3 separate regions of the Homo sapiens genome follow, and regions 2 and 3 are each linked to region 1. Evidence: promoter capture Hi-C in 16 types of primary human blood cells and fetal thymus (Javierre and others, 2016). All regions are on one chromosome and are shown on one strand. Each heading gives the region's core, a stretch centred on a gene start or on the middle of the fragment in contact. The rest is flanking DNA. Distances are from core to core; before and after follow the strand shown.

Region 1 (2,874 bases), core at 158-2,657:
TGGCACATCTTCTGTCCCTCCTGGAGGTCATCCTTTTCCATATTTTGAAGGAGGATTAGAACTAGCCTTGCTTCATAATCACCATGCTTCATTGCCTACCTAAATTCTGTAATTCTTATTCCTCAGCTTGGAGATCACCTCAACCAGGAAGTCTTCCTTGATTTCCTCAAAGTGGGATTGCCTCTCCCTTGTGTTGTGTAGCACGCTTTCTTCACCCCTTTTATAGTTCTTGTCATGCAGAATTGTGATAATGAATTATTTGCCTCTATCATCGGACTATGAACTACTCAAGGGAAAAAACTTGCCTTATTCACCTCTGCATTTCTAAGGTTTAGCTTAATTCTTGGCATAAGTAAGCACTTAGAAACACTGGATGGACAAACAAATGACTTTTCTTGAGAACACATCCTTAAGAGTATAGCTATTTAGATCAACATGTTAAAATATTCAAAGCTCTTTCATACAGCTTCTCATTTAATCCCACTCTATGCCTATAAATGAAGCACTGTTATCCCCACATTGCAGATGAGAAAACTGAGAATCAAGGAGACACACAGCTGGATAATGGCAGAGCATGAATGTAACAGTAAGTGTTTTGATCCTGAACCCAGTGCCAGGATGACATTGGAACAAAAGCTTATTTTCTAACTGTTTCAGTTGAATGAGTCATAAATACTTTAAATACAAAATTTACTATTTCCCAAATTCAGTAAAGCAAAGTCAGAAAACATGTTGATTCTCAGGGTTGGCACAAGTCTGACCAAGGAGAAATCTTCCAAGAACTGTTTTCAGCTTAAGTTAGTTGAAGGGGAAAAAAGACCATTTATAATATACTACAGTGAACATGCTTCATATTTCTCAGCAAGATGATTTTGTAAAAGATTAAAAATGCTTCCAAATCCATGCTGATTTCCAGAATTTGCTCTATGAACCAAGATGGGATTATGTAATGGGTTCAAGTAAGTGAACAATCTCAGTTCACTTAGGAAAACTAAGCGAAGAAAACAGGGATTGTTTACTTAATTGGATACATTAGTTGCATTCTATAAATGTTTCACCCTGTGTCCTATGCCGATTGCAGGAGATAAGTCCAAAATAATTGTTTAAAAACAATTAGATATCCAAAATATATTTGCTTCTCCTATTTTCCCAAAGGAACATGGAGTCTCGGAGTTGTGACGTCCATTGCCAGCAAAGGTTCAGACAAAGGTAATTATAGAGTTCATTTGAAACTTACCTTTGGGGAGCGAAAGAGTTGCAGATTTACCTCGTTCAAAAAAGACTATTCCTAGTAGTAAAATCAGCTTGTTCCTGCTTATAAGCATTTTGAGACTCATAGTTTTTCCCTGAAATTTTAGAGAGACTAAAGCAAACAAAAATAGGAAGCCTTGAGAGACCAGCAATAAGCCAATTTAAAACAAGTTTATTCATTAACCAAGACGTGGTGAATCAAGCATGTCCATCTGATGTTTCTGAATGTAGTGTTTCGCAAAGATCTTTTGGAAGATGTGGAGAAACAACCACAGAAGCAGAGTCTTGATCAAGCAATATTACATATCCTATTACACCTACACCAATTAGTTGATTCCTCCAGAGTGTATCTGGCTAGCAAAGTGGTTAGCATGTAAGATTTGCATCTGCAAACATTACTTGCTCCTTTGTAGAGCTTACCACTTTTACCACTTTCTATAAGAAGATTGACTATCAATGTTGTCCTTGTTTGCAAGGGTACACTTCCCTACTTTTTTGCAAACGACCCATCCAAATGTATATAATTTTTTTGGGCAGAGATGGAGTTTCATCATGTTGCCCAGGCTGATCTCAAACTCCTGGGCTCAAGGGATCTGCCTGCCTTGCCCTCCCAAAGGTCTGGGATTACAAGTGTGAGCCACCACGCCCAGCCAATATTCTAAAATATTTTTATTTATCTTATTTTGCAAATGTAACTACATGGTTATTATAAACATATGTTGGTGAATGAGAGAAGTGGAAAGATATTTGGGTGTCACACTCAGGAAGCCCTGCTGTTAGAAAGTCATCTAGGATACTGTACATTGGGGCATTTGTGACTCTGCATTCTCCTATCATTTTTGTATTTATAGAAGGGAAACACTAAATCTCCTTTACTTCTATGCCTGGTAGATGCTTGGGAGAGTAAAGTGGCTATGATTACCTGTACATTTTCCTCTTTCCTCAACGAGTTTTGGGCACATGGTCAGTGTGTGAGAAATATTTATAGGATGGTCAATGCCATCTATGACCAGATAGAAATATAACATTTTTCTGTCAACTTTTATAAGTTACCCACTAAAAATAACAAATGTCAGCCCAAAAGCTCTTAATTTCCTTTTGGCAACTTTTGTCTTTGTACAAAAAAGTATGAAAATACAACACATACAAATAATATAAATGCAAAACAGAGAAGGTGTAAAAACTTAACATTTGTAAGCACTACATATTTAGGTACACTAATCAAGAATGTAGCCTTATGGAAAGAAGGAAACTCAAACCTCTATTGAGGCTTTATCTATAACTACTGTAATCCTGATGCCAAACATTTTTGGCTATTGGTATGGAGTGATAGCCCCAAGAGGTAATCAATCAATGTCTAAGCCCTAATCAAAGTCTCAATCTTTCTTTGACAGCAAGCTCCCTTTAAATTGCTATTGTGTTTTATCAATCACTTTTGAGAGCAACTTGACTAGGAATATGGCCTTTCTGACCCCAAATTCACTACATTCTGTCTAAAATGTGTATACTGTTAATGTCAAAAGTGCAGAAAGACCTAGTGTGGGCCTAGGATGCACTAAACTTGACAAGCCTAAAGTAGGCACATAGCATAGGACAATAAAATTTGACTCTATACTGAAAGAA
Region 2 (2,874 bases), core at 185-2,684, 360 kb before region 1:
CCACCAGGAGGAGGCATGCAGCCCAGTTCCCCTAGTCTCTCTTCCTAAATCCCCCATCTTTTTTTTTCGTTTTTATTATTGAGTTGTGAGAGCTTTTAAAATATTCTGGATGCCAGTCCTTTATCAAATATATGGTATGTGAATATTTTCTCCCAAGCTATGGCTTTTTATTCTCTTAACACTTTCTTTTGAAAGAGAGACATTCTTAATTCTGCTCAAGTCCATTTACTCAATTTCATCTTTTATAGGGTATGTTTTCAGTGGCGTGTCAAAGAAGTCCTGGCCTAATCCAAATTTATACAGTATTTTTTTTTACTGTTTTACTCTAGAAGTTCTATCATTTTAGCTCTTGCATTTATAACTACAATCCATTTTGAGTTAATTTTTATGTATAGTATGATATGGTTTGAAGTTCTTTCTTGTGAATGCATATGTGTGTGTATACTATAAAGTTGTTCCAGCACCATTTGTTGAAAAGTCTATATTTTATCCACACAATTGTCTTTTGCACCTTTGAAGAAAATAATTGATCATATATATGAGTCTATTCTGGACTCTCTATTCTTTTCCATCGCTCTATTTGTCTAGCTTTACTCCAATATCACAGTGTCTTGATTGCAGATTTATAAATCTTGAAATCAAATAGTGTAAGTGCTGCAACTTTACCCTACTTTGTCAAAGTTGTTTTAGTTATCTAGGTCTTTTGCATTTCCATATGAATTTTATAATCAGCTCATTATTTTACACACACACACACACACACACACACACACACACTTGAATTTTTATTGGGGTTGCATTAAATATAGAATCACTTTCTATTATTTGGAAATAATAGGAATCTTAAAAATAGTGAGTCTTCCCATCACAAACAGTGTATCTCTCTCCATTTAGTACATCGTCTTTACCTTCCCTCAGCAATATTTTCTAAGACAGGTCTCTCGAGCTCTCTCATTGTTTATCGTTCTCTTCTCTGGTACTCTACCCTGCAAATTCTAGGGGGGATGGCCTCTCCAGACTCCCAAGTCCGTTTCCTCAACTGAGGGAGCCCACTAGGCTCTGCCTGGGTTTTCACCTGTCTGTACTGTGTCTCTGAAACTTTCTCCAGGTGGTGACATGGGCAGTTTTAGTTCTTGCCTCATTTGTTTCCTGTCACTCAAGGATCACATATCTTCATTACCTGATGTCCAATCATTGTTTCATATATTTTGTCCAGATTTTTAGTTGTTTAAAATGTGAGAGTAAATTCATTTCCTGCCTCTCTGTCATTGTCAGAAGTGATTGATTTTATGTGAGAATTGAAGAAAGAGAGTGGTCAAAGATGGATGATTTTCTGGTTTTCAGCATGAGCAAACTCCAGATGTTGGTATTTACTGAGATGGGAAATATTAGGTGAAGAATAGGCTGTATTCTGGTATAAGTAAGATCATGTGTTCCATTTTTAACATATTCAGTTTGTGCTACCTGTGAGACATTCAAGTATAAAAAAATCAAAAAACAGTTGTATAGACTAGGCTGGAGCTCAGAAGCAGGGCCTGAGTTGGAAATATGAATTAACAAATTGTCAACATATCCTGTTTATGGTATTTGAAAAATAGATGTTGACAAAGGTCTTTACTAGCAGAATGTAGAGTGATAAAAGAGGAGGACAGAGGTCCAGTTTTTGAAGAATACTAATGTTTAGACTTCAGATGGAAAAGAAGACCTTAATCTGAGCAGAGAGAGCCAAAGAGGTAAAAGGAAAACTGGTTGATTGTATCATGGAAGTCACTAGAAGAATGTTTCAAGGAACCAAGAGTGGTCAGAGTCACTCTGACTGAGAGAGTGACAAAGCTACATTGAAGTTGATGAAGAAAGGACTGAAAAGAACCCACTGGATTATGTGACGGCAAAGTCATTGGTGGCTTTAGTAAGGGAACTTTCCATAGAGCAGTAAGGACCAAAGCCAGAACAGAGTAGACTGGAAAGCAAATGACAGGAACAGGAGGCAGCATGTTTAAATAGCTCCGTGGCACATTTGGCTGCAAAAGGGAAGAGGAGGACTGAAATTGGGAAGGAATTTTTCAAAATGGGAGAAAACAGATTATTTAAATACTGACAGCTAAGAGCCAGTAGTGGGGAAGCCTGGAGATGCAAGAAAGAGAGGATGAGCAGCAGAGGGGGTTCCTGTGGCTGAGACCCCATCGGATGGCACGAATGGATGGGACCCAGAACAGAGTTGGCGGATTTGCTTTTGATAAAACTCTTCTTCCCATGTTGCAGTGGGAGGGAGAGGCCAATGCAAGTGCAAATACATTTATGAATCCAAAGGTAAGAAGTCAAGTGTAGCCCTTCTGATGTCTCTGTCTTCTCTGGGAGGGAAGAAACAGGGCTGTGTACTGAGCATATGGAAGAGCCTCTGCCTTCAGGGAGCTTGTGGTCTTTTGGCGTGTACTGCTCTGATGATTTCTTTTATAGTAACTACAAAATCAGTCTCACTTCAACTTGCGTCCCTTTTAAATTTTAAAATGTTTTACTTTTCAAAAATAATTTGCTGGATTTTCCTTGATTATGTAATCTGTCTGCTCAATACAGAAAACTTGAATGAAAACAGAAGAGTAGATAATTCTGATACAAAGTCACCTATAGTCCCTCTGCCCTAAAGTAACCACTGTTAAAGTTTGATATATCTTTCCTGTATAATCTCTGTCCATGGTTCTTCACTTGCAATTTTTATATGGTTGTGACACTATTTTGCCTGCTTCTTTGCTGTAATTTGTTTAAGTAAGGAAACTAAACACAAAGTTTTGTCTCAAAGGACCATTTCTGCAGGTGGGTGGGGCCCCTGTTCCTGAACAGGGCTTCATTCCCTTTGTCCATGTTTGCTGAGATCAG
Region 3 (2,874 bases), core at 205-2,704, 340 kb before region 1:
AGCAGAATTAGTTGTCTTCAATGGTTGCATTTATTTCTGATAAATGCAAAGCATCACTAGGACTAAAATAGAATTTGGGGTCAGATTCCTTCATGGCTGGGGAGCTCTGCAGCTGTGACAGATGGATGAGGGAGCAAATGCTAGAGGGAAAAAGGAAAGAAAAAAGAATCTGTCCTAAACTGAACCTTTGTTCAGACAGTTAAGACTTGCCTCCCAGACAGGTTTTATGGATTGCTAGGGGTCTCAATTTGTGCCCTGATGTGTCTGAGTGAGTGTGATTTTCAGGCATCCAGACCCCTCCTCCCAGGCCCACCCCGCACATATTCTGCCTTCACTTCCTTGCACAGTGAAACGCTCCATTGACTGCAAGGCTTATGAAATGAAAGGCTCTGATAATGGAGTGTAAGCATTTTTGTCTTCATGATTGTGGAAAAAAAAAAGCGATGAAATTACTAAGAAATCCTCAAGATGGGGTGGGGAAATGGGAACAAATGATTCGTTGGGAAAATAAATGCTTCAGTCTAAAAAAATCCAAGATGGAATAAAAGATGTATTCCCCTCCCAATTTATAGAGGAGAGCAATTTTTTGGTATTTTCTCAGCCGAAAGGAAGAAAACCTTAAATTTCTTCTTTTCTGTCTTTATGAGTCTAAACTATTTTTAAGACTTTAGAGTACATCAGGTTCTGATATCGTGTGCATTTTGTTTCTTTAACTGTAGTTGGTATTTTATATGGACTTCTGAGCAAACTGAATTGGAATTCTGCAAGGTCAGGGGACTGTTTCGTTTGTCTTTGCTCACCACGAAGCCTAACACCTCCTGCCATGCCTGACATTGTATAGGTGACAATTTTTAAAAAAATAAATGAATGAATTAGCGAATTAAACTTTCTTCTCAGAGTATTTTCACCAACAGTTTTCACTGGCCTCTGGTTCTCATTACTTTCTCTTTACTGGCATTTTCAGGGGATTTCATACCTGTTTTAATTTTGCTTTTTCTAGTTGCTGTAGTTATTGTTTTAGTTACCAAAAATGACTTAAAATTGTGAAATATGTGAGCAGGATCGGGTCGTATTTACTGTTGAAATGTATCAGGCTTCTCCCTTCCAATCCTGCTCTAGCCACAATCTGTAAGGTCAGTACTATGCCACACTGGTGGCCCTTGGGCCTCTAATTTGGGACACTGATACTGATCTCTGACCCCTGTTCTGCTGATGTACCCTATAGCCTTGTAATTGCCCTTGAAGAAAGTCCTACTTGCTTTGGTTACTTACCCTTCAAGGTACTGAAATGTGACTGTGGCCCAGCTGTCCTCCAGGTGCTCCCATCTGACCACATGACTCTCCAATCCTGGCTCCCATGATTCGTTGCTGCTCAGTCATGAGGACATGTTGACACCTCATCTTGGTCTCTCTATGGCTAGCAATTTCTCTAAGCTCTGACATACCTGGGTTTTGGGCCTTCTTCTGCAAATGGATCACTCTCTCATACAGACTATTATTCTAACCTCCCGAATTCCCAGGTCCTGGCCCCTTTCTACCTATGCAGTCTTAATCTAACAATCTGCTAATATGTTGGTGTATGTACTTGAGGATTTTTTTCAATACTTAGACATAAACATAACTATGCACACTTATTTTCGATAAACCTGAGGTCACTCTATGCATACTTCTTTGTAATCTGATGTTTTTCTCTTAATAAAACTCTTAATAGAGTTAATTAATAGACATCCACACTAATTAATGGACATCCACATCTATTATAGACATCCATATTAATTAATAGACATCCACATTAATTAATAGACATCCACATCTTCATTTTAACTCATAATCCTCCTGGTTATTATTATTCCATTTCATGTTTATTACTATTACATATTTTAACCAATCCTCTGGTGATTAATAATTGAGTTGCTACAGTTTTTGGCTTTATGCTGTGATATAAATCCACATATATATATTTTTTACATTGTCCAATTATTTCCTCAAGTCCTAGAAATAGAAATTTGGGGCCAAATGTTATATATATTTTATAGCTTCTGATCATATATTGATACAACTGGTCTAGGTTTACTATTGTATAGTTCCACAAATTGTGTTCAAGTGCCAGATTCAATTCTCCCTCATAAACATTTATTATTATTATTGAATTAGCTTTAATATATTATAAATTTTTGTGAATAAATATACACATAGTAAACTTATGACTTATAGATATTATACCTGATTCTCGTGGATATTCCATGCTCTGGTGTATACGAAGGTATAAAGAAGACAGCAAATGCCCTCTTATCATTACCCTTCTTTCCAGGAGACCATCTTTTTTTTTTTTTTTTTTTTTTTTTTCGAGACGGAGCCTCGCTCTGTCACCCAGGCTGGAGTGCAGTGGCGCAATCTCGGCTCACTGCAAGCTCCGCCTCCCGGGTTCACGCCATTCTCCTGCCTCAGCCTCCCGAGTAGCTGGAACTACAGGCGCCCGCCACTACGCCCGGCTAATTTTTTTTTTTTTTTTTGGTATTTTTAGTAGAGACGGGGTTTCACCGTGGTCTCGATCTCCTGACCTCGTGATCCGCCCTCCTCGGCCTCCCAGAGTGCTGGGATTAGAGGCGTGAGCCACCGCGCCCGGCCTTCCAGGAGACCATCTTTATAGCTGCTTTCATTTTTGCTTTAGTTGTTATAGTTATCCTGTTATTTAGTGTAGACCTCCAAGGTTTTTTTCTGTTATCATAATTTCATTGCTTGCTAATGTAATAGACGAAATATGGCATGGTGATTTTGACATGATTTGTGTTTATTATAACATTAATGCAGTTAAACATCTTTTTGTAAGTTTATTTAAGCCATTTCCTTTTCTTCTTTTGTGACTTGCCTGCT

The links. Contacts are between HindIII fragments. The CHiCAGO score rates a contact against its expected background, and 5 or more counts as called.
Region 2: a contact is called between a fragment that was not itself captured here and the fragment with the promoter of OVCH2 in region 1, in 2 of 17 cell types (M2 macrophages and M1 macrophages). The highest score is 6.5, in M2 macrophages.
Region 3: a fragment that was not itself captured here is called in contact with the fragment with the promoter of OVCH2 in region 1 in 1 of 17 cell types (M1 macrophages); the score reaches 5.0 in M1 macrophages.

Annotation. Positions count from the first base shown.
Region 1 is chr11:7,705,070-7,707,943 of GRCh38, forward strand. OVCH2 (ovochymase 2) reads right to left here and starts at 1,408. Exons shown (of 16, transcript NM_198185.7): 1 at 1,238-1,408. The coding sequence starts at 1,325. It overlaps LOC105376533 (a long non-coding RNA gene), which reads left to right. Exons shown (of 11, transcript XR_007062576.1): 7 at 526-586; 8 at 1,156-1,209. The HindIII fragment of the contact is 6,680 bases long and covers 635-2,874 here.
Region 2 is chr11:7,344,187-7,347,060 of GRCh38, forward strand. All of the region lies in intron 3 of SYT9 (synaptotagmin 9), which reads left to right. Among named protein-coding and RNA genes, the nearest start is that of SYT9, 94 kb to the left of the region's middle. The HindIII fragment of the contact is 3,004 bases long and covers 1-2,874 here.
Region 3 is chr11:7,364,753-7,367,626 of GRCh38, forward strand. The region is part of intron 3 of SYT9 (synaptotagmin 9); the gene reads left to right. Among named protein-coding and RNA genes, the nearest start is that of SYT9-AS1, 100 kb to the right of the region's middle. The HindIII fragment of the contact is 4,159 bases long and covers 1-2,874 here.